Regions from separate parts of the Homo sapiens genome. Here region 1 is linked to region 2. Evidence: promoter capture Hi-C in human tissues and cell types (Jung and others, 2019). All regions are on one chromosome and are shown on one strand. Each heading gives the region's core, a stretch centred on a gene start or on the middle of the fragment in contact. The rest is flanking DNA. Distances are from core to core; before and after follow the strand shown.

What was found. The method cuts DNA at HindIII sites, captures the fragments that hold promoters and counts their contacts. A contact is called where the count stands out against the background at its distance.
Region 1: a fragment that was not itself captured here is called in contact with the fragment with the promoter of CAMKK1 in region 2 in 2 of the 25 tissues and cell types used here (dorsolateral prefrontal cortex and lymphoblastoid cells).

Annotation. Positions count from the first base shown.
Region 1 is chr17:4,254,928-4,259,439 of GRCh38, forward strand. All of the region lies in intron 1 of ANKFY1 (ankyrin repeat and FYVE domain containing 1), which reads right to left. Among named protein-coding and RNA genes, the nearest start is that of ANKFY1, 6.8 kb to the right of the region's middle. The HindIII fragment of the contact is 5,645 bases long and covers 332-4,512 here.
Region 2 is chr17:3,891,410-3,895,700 of GRCh38, forward strand. It overlaps CAMKK1 (calcium/calmodulin dependent protein kinase kinase 1), which reads right to left and starts at 1,644. Exons shown (of 16, transcript NM_032294.3): 1 at 1,530-1,644. RefSeq lists silencers at 951-1,200, 1,341-1,520, 1,551-2,090. The HindIII fragment of the contact is 23,333 bases long and covers 1-4,291 here.

The DNA of each region.
Region 1 (4,512 bases), core at 1,904-4,403, 370 kb after region 2:
TCACACAATTAGCAGAAGACAGACTCAAGATTTGTGGTCTTAAGCCAGAACGCATCCCATTAACACCATGATGCCAGATTTCAGCTCCAGTATCAGAACACCAAGATTAGTCATTAATTAATCCAGGAATTAAATGAGCTCCTTCATTTCCTATAGTAAATGCACTCTACTCCCCTCCAGCCACTCCAGTTCTAACCCACACTGTATTCAGTCTTTCTAGATTCACATCACCCTGGCATTTCCTTTCTCTACACTCCTATAGTTCTTCTATTCTAGCCAAAACTTTAGCAATGAATTAGTGTTCTTCATGTAATTCTTTTTTTTTTTTTTTTTTTTTGAGACAAGAGTTTCTCTTGTCGCCCAGACTGGAGTGCAATGGTGTGATCTTGGCTCATGGCAACCTCTGCCTCCCGGGTTCAAGCAATCCTCCTGCCTCAGCCTCCTGAAGCAGCTGAGATTACAGGCGCCTGCCACCATGCCCAGCTAATTTTTTTGTATTCTTAGCAGAGACAGGATTTCGCCATGTTGGCCAGGCTGGTCTTGAACTCCTGACCTGAGGTGATCCCCTGGCCTCGGCCTCCCAAAGTGCTGGGATTACAGGCATAAGCCACCGTGCCCAGTCTCTTCATGTAATTCTTTAATGACTAAATGACTTTATACCTATTCTGCTTTAACTATGTCCATTAGATAAAAGAGAAATGATTGTAAAGGCTGTGATAACATTCTATTTGGAGAACTACAAGAATAATTTTTTGTTCCAGGCTTATATTAGGATCTTCCACAAAAAAATATTTCATTAAAGTGTCAGCTTCCCAGAAAATACTATCTTCCTTGGCATCAGATTAGAAAAGCTCTTCACTGGTGATTAATTACCACCACTACTACTTTTCTTTTTTTTTTTTCTTTTGAAACGGAGTCTCACTCTTGTCGCCCAAGCTGGAGTGCAATGGCGCGATCTCAGCTCACTGCAACCTCCGCTTCCCAGGTTCAAGCAATTCTTCTGCCTCAGCCTCCCGAATAGCTAGGATTACAGGAGTGCACCACCAAGCCTGGCTAATTTTTGTATTTTTAGTAGAGACGGGGTTTCACCATGTTGCTCAGGCTAGTCTCAAACTCCTGATCTTGTGACCTGCCCGCCTCGGCCTCCCAAAGTGCTGGGATTACAGGTGTGAGGCACCACGCCCAGCCCACAAATATGGATGTTTAAAAGCTCCCAGGTGGCCAGGCGCGGTGGCTCATGCCTGTAATCCCAGCACTTTGGGAGGCCAAGGCGGGCGGATTACGAACTGAGGAGATCGAGACCATCCTGGCTAACAGAGTGAAACCCCGTCTCTATTAAAAATACAAAAAATTAGCCAGGCGCAGTGGCGGGCGCCTGTAGTCCCAGCTACTCAGGAGGCGGAGGCAGGAGAACGGCGTGAACCCGGGAGGTGGAGCCTGCAGTGAGCTGAGATCGCACCACTGCACTCCAGCCTGGGCAATAGAGCGAGACTCCATCTCAAAAAAAGAAAAAACTCCCAGGTTAACTGTACTGTGCAGGGTTCTCCAGGTTGAGAACTATGTACTAATGGAACGAGGGAGAGAGGAAAGCACAGATGTGAGAGGTGTACAGCATCCGGGGGATTTGGTGACTGATGCAGATCTTGGGGGGAGTCGGAGATAACTTTTTGGTGACTGACTTGAGAGTCTGGCTGAAAAGTAGTGCCATTAATCATGAATATAGAAGAGAAAACCTGGTATAACTAGAAAGCAACATGCATGCTTATTTGAAATACTTTGCCTTCCCCTCTCTGTTCTGCAAGTTCCATTAAGGTTAAGGTTGTGTCTTGCTCATTTTGTCATCTCTGGCACAGTAGCTTGCACCTACCGTGAAATACGTTTTTCCTGAATGCAATTCAACTCTGCTAGGTTCGTCTGCCTCATGTTACAGTTGGTGGCATGACTTACACATCTTTCAAAAGCTCACCGTGTATAGCAGTGACAATTGGGCTGGTTTCATAAGAGATGCATAACAAATATTAGCTAACTAGCCATTTCCACCCCAAACTCCTGACTGGAAACACTTCCAACTTAGACATCACCACATAGAAGTATACTGGGCAAAGCAAATATGTCCAAAAGTGAGGTCAAAATACTTGTTCTCCAATCTATTCCTCCTCTACCTCTTAGCAGCTCAGCCATTTGTCTGAGTCATCCAGACCTAGAACTTGAGTCATCTTTGATTCTCTCTCATCAACATTCAACCAGGTTTCAAAAGTCCTGTCTTTCATACGTTCTGTGGTCTTTCTCCCATCAGTCCTCACCAGCCCCACAGCCTCTACCAAATGGCTCACCATCAACTGCTACAGCTTGCTCTCTGACTTCCTTTCTTCCCAATCCATCCTCTACACTGCAGTCATTTCGCCATGCCTCACACAATTCCTGTTCTGTCGCTACCGTGGCTGATTCCTTTCGGTAGTATCGCTCCATGAGTCTCAGAATAAAATCCAAATGCTGAACCAATGCCCTTAATAATCTGGCCCTTAACATACTCTTCCAACTTCACATCCCACTAATTCCTTCCACCTAGAACAGTGACCTCTCCTCAATCTCATGTCCCCATGTCCAAAGGAGGGCCATTTTTCAAAGCTCAGTTCAAGCAATGTCTCCTGCAACAAGACTTTCCCTGATTATCCAAAATACATTCCCCATTACTTCCTTAAAAAATCTCTCCCTGAGTTTTCAAAGTAACTCCTAAGCATTTTTTACCCTTCACCTTAAAATATAGTTTCTCATATACAATTTCTTTTATCTCCCCTCCTAGACTTCAGAACTCCCTGTGAATAAGCTTTAGTTCTGGCTATTCGTATTTAACTATCAATTACTTCTCCCTCTATACCCATTCCATGGTTATCTCCTCCTCCCGACAGTACCTTACCAGATGGAGTTCAATAAATACCACAGGTTCAACAGGAGATTCTGGGGACATAGCAATTTCTCATTTGGTTCAGCAAGGCTGTAAATCATGATAGTATCTCAAATTGCCTACAGCAAATCACCTTGCCAGTGACAGAATCCTGTGTATCTCAGCACAATTCAGTAGCTTTACTTTGACATAACCACTAATGGATAAATTTTATTTCTCAGTAAAAATAATTCACAAGGAGAAAGCTAACAGCTACAGCTGGTGACAGTAGTCACCAGGAAAGGGAGAGAAAAGAAAAGAATGGTATAAAAGGAACAGTCCTTAAGAGGTCTCTGGACTATATATAATTATCAATGACCTGGGACATTTGTTCAATAAGTAAAACAATAAACAGATAAATTTCAGAAGTAGGGCCGGGCGCGGTGGCTCACGCCTGTAATCCCAGCACTTTGGGAGGCCGAGGCGGGCGGATCACGAGGTCAGGAGATCAAGACCATCCTTGCTAACACGGTGAAACCTCATCTCTACCAAAAATACAAAAAATTAGCCAGGCTTGGTGGCGGGCGCCTGTAGTCCCAGCTACTCGGGAGGCTGAGATAGGAGAATGGTGTGAACCTGGGAGGGGAGCTTGCAGTGAGCCGAGATCGCACCACTGCACTCCAGCCTGGGAGACAGAGCCAGACTCCAACTCAAAAAAAAAAAAAAAAAGTGGAAACAGCAAAGTTCCTTCTTTCCTTATTTCTACCAGCCTCCACTAATGAAGCATTTTCTGGAACAGGACTATCCAAAGCACTTCTGGCAATGGTGCAAGTGTTCTATTAATCTGTGCTGTCCATTAGGGGGAGCTACTAGCCACATGGCTACTGAGTACTTGGAATAGGACTAGTACAACTGAGAAGTTAATTTTAAATTTTATTTAATTTTAATCAAATTTAAGTAGCCACATGTGGCTAGTGACTATTGTGTTGGTCAATGAATACCCAGGACATGGAATGTTTTCCCCATTTTGCTTGGGTTGTTGTCAAAAGTATTTTTCTGATCAAATTCCATCAAGCTAACAAAAGTTTATGATAAATTTTCTGTTCAATATACTATTTACAAAAAAATTACATTTTTTTCAATTTTTACTTTTACTGAGGAAAAGAAATGGAGAGTGATTTTAGAGGAGACTCAAGAGAAAGACTGTGCACCAGGGTGAAAGCATCAGGCGCTGTGGGAAAAGCATCAGTCGCTGTGGAAGAAACATTAGGCGCTGTGGAAAAAGGCTCTTCCTGCAACTGAGAAATATCCTAGGATTCCCACAGCTACTTGTGAGCTACAGATGATCCCCCTTTTAAAGCTGAGGACACTGAGACTGACAGCAATTAATTGACTTGCTTATGATCACAGCTTAAACTAGGATTTAAATCCATGTCCAGCTGCAGAGTCTGAGCTCTTAAACACTACATTTTATTTTATTATTATTATTTTTTGAGACAGTCTCTGTTGCTCAGGCTGGAGTGCGGTGGCGCGATCTCGGATCACTGCAACCTCCACCTTCCGGGTTCAAGTGATTCTCCTGACTCAAGTCTCCTGAGCAGCTGGGATTACAGGCACATGCCACCATG
Region 2 (4,291 bases), core at 394-2,893:
AGTGTAGTTGAGGAAGGCCTTTTGGGAGCAGGACTGGAGCAGACACCTGAAGGAAGGAAGGGGCAGTAGGCAGTGTAGTTATCTGGGGAAGAGCATTTCAGGTGCAGGGACCAGCAGGTGCAAACGCCATGAGGGGACAGTGCTTGCTCAGTATGAAGAACAGCAGGGAGGCTGACGTGGCTGGAGTGGAGTCTTCCCCACATAAGAGGCACCTGATAGCAAGAGGAGTTACATCTGGAGAGAAAGCCCCCTCACTCATTGTGCTGGCCTCAGGGATGGCTTCCTAGAGGAGGTGGCACCTGAGCTCTCTTCTGAGCACTGAGCAGGATTTCAGGATGAGGCGAGGATGGAAGTTTGCACTGTGCATATAGGAGAGTCATTTCCTGGCTGGGACTCCGGGCTTGGTTTGGGGGTGGGGAGAGCTTGGTGGACAGAGCCCAGGAGGCCCCCAAAGCCAGGGGGAGGTTGTGAGCAGGGGAGTGCCTCGGTTAGGTGAGGTTTAAAACGACTCCCATGGCTGCTGTGAGGACTGACGGTGGGAGACCGAGGAAGAGGCGAAGGGTCCCCAGAGTGTGTGCGCCTGGGACGCAGTGGGGGGTCAATTTGTATGTACTGGAGGAAAGAGGGCAGGGCTTGGGGAGGCCAGCGCCACTTCCCTGGGATCCTCCAGCGCGCACAGGCTGTGTGCCCCTCCCACACTCCTGTGCCCGCCCTGCGGACACCACCAAGGCCCGGTCCTGTGGCCTGTGACACAGCCTTCTCTGCACAGCCCTGCAACGCCAAGACTTGAGCACACCCCCTCCCCTGACAGGCACACGCCCGTGTCCGCGTGACCCGCCCTCACACACCACTCCATCCTGTCCTGCACCCCCCACGCAGACACAGGCACACTCCCGCGTCCACGTGACACACGCACACCCGCCTCCAAACAGCACACGCAGGTCCCTGCGCACGTGGACACCCCCCCAGCCACCAGCCCTGCGCCTCCCGGGCCCCGAAGCCGCAGCGCCCGCCTCTGCCGCCCCCTCTCGCCCCAGCCAAGGCAGGACCCTGCGCAGCCTGAGCCGCGCGCCGCCGCCGCCCCATTCATCTCCCACCCCGCCCCCGGCTCCTGCAGGAAGACGCTCCGGCGGGCCGTGGGAGGAGCGCTCCGCGGAGAACCGCACGTGGGTGCCCCGGGCCGGGCCCACTCCGCACAGACGTGGCCTCCACCAGGAGCCGGGCGCGGGGGACAGTGCACCGGGGATGGATGCGGTCCGCAGACAGAAGCGGGGAAGAACGCAGACGGCGGGGCACCCGCGGCGATGCGGTCCCGGCGGCCGGCGCAGACCCGAGCAGACTCCGCGAGGCACCCCGCAGACCCGGCCCCGCAGACAGAAGGGGAAGGATCCCCGCCCTGACCAGATCCCAGCTCCCTCGTAGACGCGGCCTGGCAGACCCCCCCCGCCTCTCCCTTGCAGGCTCGGGGCAGGTGTTAAGGCGTTCGTCCTCCTGCTCCTCGCCCGCGTCCCCGCCCCGCCGATCCCTACCTGGGCGCCGGGCGACAGTGTCCGCGGCCCGGCGGGCGGCCCCACTCGCTCCTGCTGCGCGCCCCGCCCCGCCCCGCCCCGCCCCACCGCCTCGCTGGGGCCCAGATCGCCGAGCTCAGCCCGCGGGCGCCGCGGCTCCGGGCAGCGCTCGCTGCCCCGCCCACCGCCGCGCCCGGCCGGCGCTCATTGGTCGGAGCGAACGGCCCCGCCAGCGCCGCCCAATCGGAGCCCGGGACTCCCGCCCCCTCCTGGACTAAGGGACCGCGGTGGGCGGCGCGGTAGGGGCCCTCCCTCCCCTGCGGCGGGGCCGACCTCGCCACGCCCCCGGCGTCCTGGGGTCCCCGAAGTCCCTCCCGGCCGCGGCGTGGGCCCTTCTCCTGGGCCTGCAGGGGACCGTGCTTCCCCGCCAAACCCTTTGCGCCCCCATCCCGGCCTGCAGGAGCCAGAGCGCCCCTCCCTCCCGGGCGAGGCGCGGTGCGTGCGAGGGAGGGGCGAGGCCCGGGGAGGAAGGCCTTGAATGGCAGGCCCAGGAGTGTAGCTTCTGCGGGGCGGGGGCAGAGAGGCCGAGAGGTGGCTTAGCACAGAGTGAAGTGCTTGCTCGGTGAGCCGGCGACAGGAATGGCCTAGCGAGGGCCGAGGGAGTAGAGGGAACTCAGCAGGACAGTGAGGTGACCTTCGCTGTGGCTGTTCCTGGGGACTCTGCCGCCACCTCTTCCCCTAACGCCTCCGCGTGTGAATCCTCTGGCACCACCACTTGCCCCATATCCTTCCCCCAAATCTAACCTCCTGCGTCCCTGTCTCGAAGTGGAGCCAGGAGCCTGGGAGTCACCTGCTGCCTCCCTGTTTCCTGCTCCAACCAGTCCATCTCCAGGCCCTGCCATACTGCCTCTTAACTATCCCTGGAATCGGCCCACTCCTCTCCACCCCACTTCCCCTCCCTTAGCTCAGGCTACCACCATCTTGTCCCTGATTGCTGCAGCAGCCTCCTCCCTGGCCTCCAGCCCCATCCAGTCTCACCTCCTACTAGCCTTTCTCTCCCTGGCACCCAGAGCAAGTTTTCAGGAACACAAGTCCACCGAGAGGCATTTTCTATGGCTCACCGTGAGAATAGGTCTAATCAAGCCCTGTATAGCCTTACTCCCAGCCACCTGCCTGTTTAACGCCTACTCGTCTTTCAGGGTTCAATTCAATCCTACTTCTGCCTGGAAACCTTCTCCATGACCTCCCCACTTCCAGCATGGGTTAGTGGCCCCACCCAGGTACTTCCTTGTACCTGGCATCTGTTTACCTGCTGGTTCCTCATTGGGACTGGGAGCTCCTGGATGGCAAGCACTGTGCCTGATTCGTCCAGCACACAGCCTGTCGCATGGCACAGGTGCTCAGTGGATGTTGTTGAATGAATAATTCCAGCAACTTGAGTGTGGCTTTTGACCTCATGGTTCAGGATACCAGCTAGAGCTCCAGCAATCACATAACGCATTCCAGGCAGTGGAGTGGAGAAAAGGATGAAGAAGAGGGCAGAGGGTCTGCACCAGCTCTCTTTTCAGGAAAGTTCCCAGAAGTTGCCACGTGGCACTTTCACATACACCGCTTGAGCTTACTTAACATGACCAGACCCAGCTGCAAGAGAAAGCTGGGAAATGCAGCTTCCATTCTGGGCAGCCACATGCCCAACCAAGAACCAAGGACTGAATTGCTACCGGGAGAACAGATATCCGGAACAACTAGTGGACTCCACCATTGAGAGGGTGGATAGATTGAGGGGCAGAGCTCGACTGTATGCCAGGTGCTGTTTACAGGTCTTTCCTCAACCCTACTAAAAGCTATTATTGTCCGGGTGCAGTAGCTCATGCCGGTAATCCCAGCCCTTTGGAAGGCTGAGGTGGAGCGTATCATTTGAGCCCAGGAGTTTGAGAACAGCCTGGTCCACATAGTGAAACTCTGTCTCTATTTAAAAAAAAAAAAAAAAAGAAGTTGTTATTATCCTTGACTCACAGAGGAGGCTTGGAGAGTTAAGCCACTTCCCCCAAGGACACACAGTGAACTGTGGCAGAGCTGCAATTGAAACCTGTCTTTTCCTTGCACGCCAGACAGGCTGGGAAGTCAGGAAAGGGTGTGTCCTAGGAGCTGCTGGAAGGAAATCTTTCGACAAGGAAGGCTTGGACAACAATGTGAGAAGCTGTCAGGCCAAGCAGGATATGGGGCCCAAGTGTCTGCTTAAGACTTGGCAACCAGGACACTGCCAGTGACCTTGGCAAGGGCACCTAGGAGAAGTGGTTGGGGTGGAGGCCAATTGCAGAGGGAAGTGTGGACTGGTCTTTCTGGAAGGGTTGCAGTGAGGGGAGAGGGGCAGAGCTGCTGGGGAACCTGGGCCAGGAGGAGGCAGAAGAGGGGGACAGATGTAGGGGTAGGAGAATGGAGGTGGCTTCTGCTGGGCAGCCTCTGGGCTGGGTGGTGAGGCTGAATACAGAGGAGGGACCCTTTTCTGCTCACTTGGAAGGGAAGGGGGCAGAAAGTGCAAAAGCAGGTGTGTCTGGAGAAAGAAGGGGGGGCAGAAGAGGAAGTTCCAGTCTTATAAAATCTAAATGATAGGTCTTGGTTGGGGAAGAGGGCAGAAGGCCAAGGCCCTGAGGGAGATGGCAGGGGCTGGCCTGTGTTGTCCAGTCTGGTAGCCACTAGTCACATGTAACTATTTAAATTAATTAAAAGTAAATTGGGCAGTCATGGTGGCTCCCGCCTGTAATCCCAGCACTTTGGAAGGC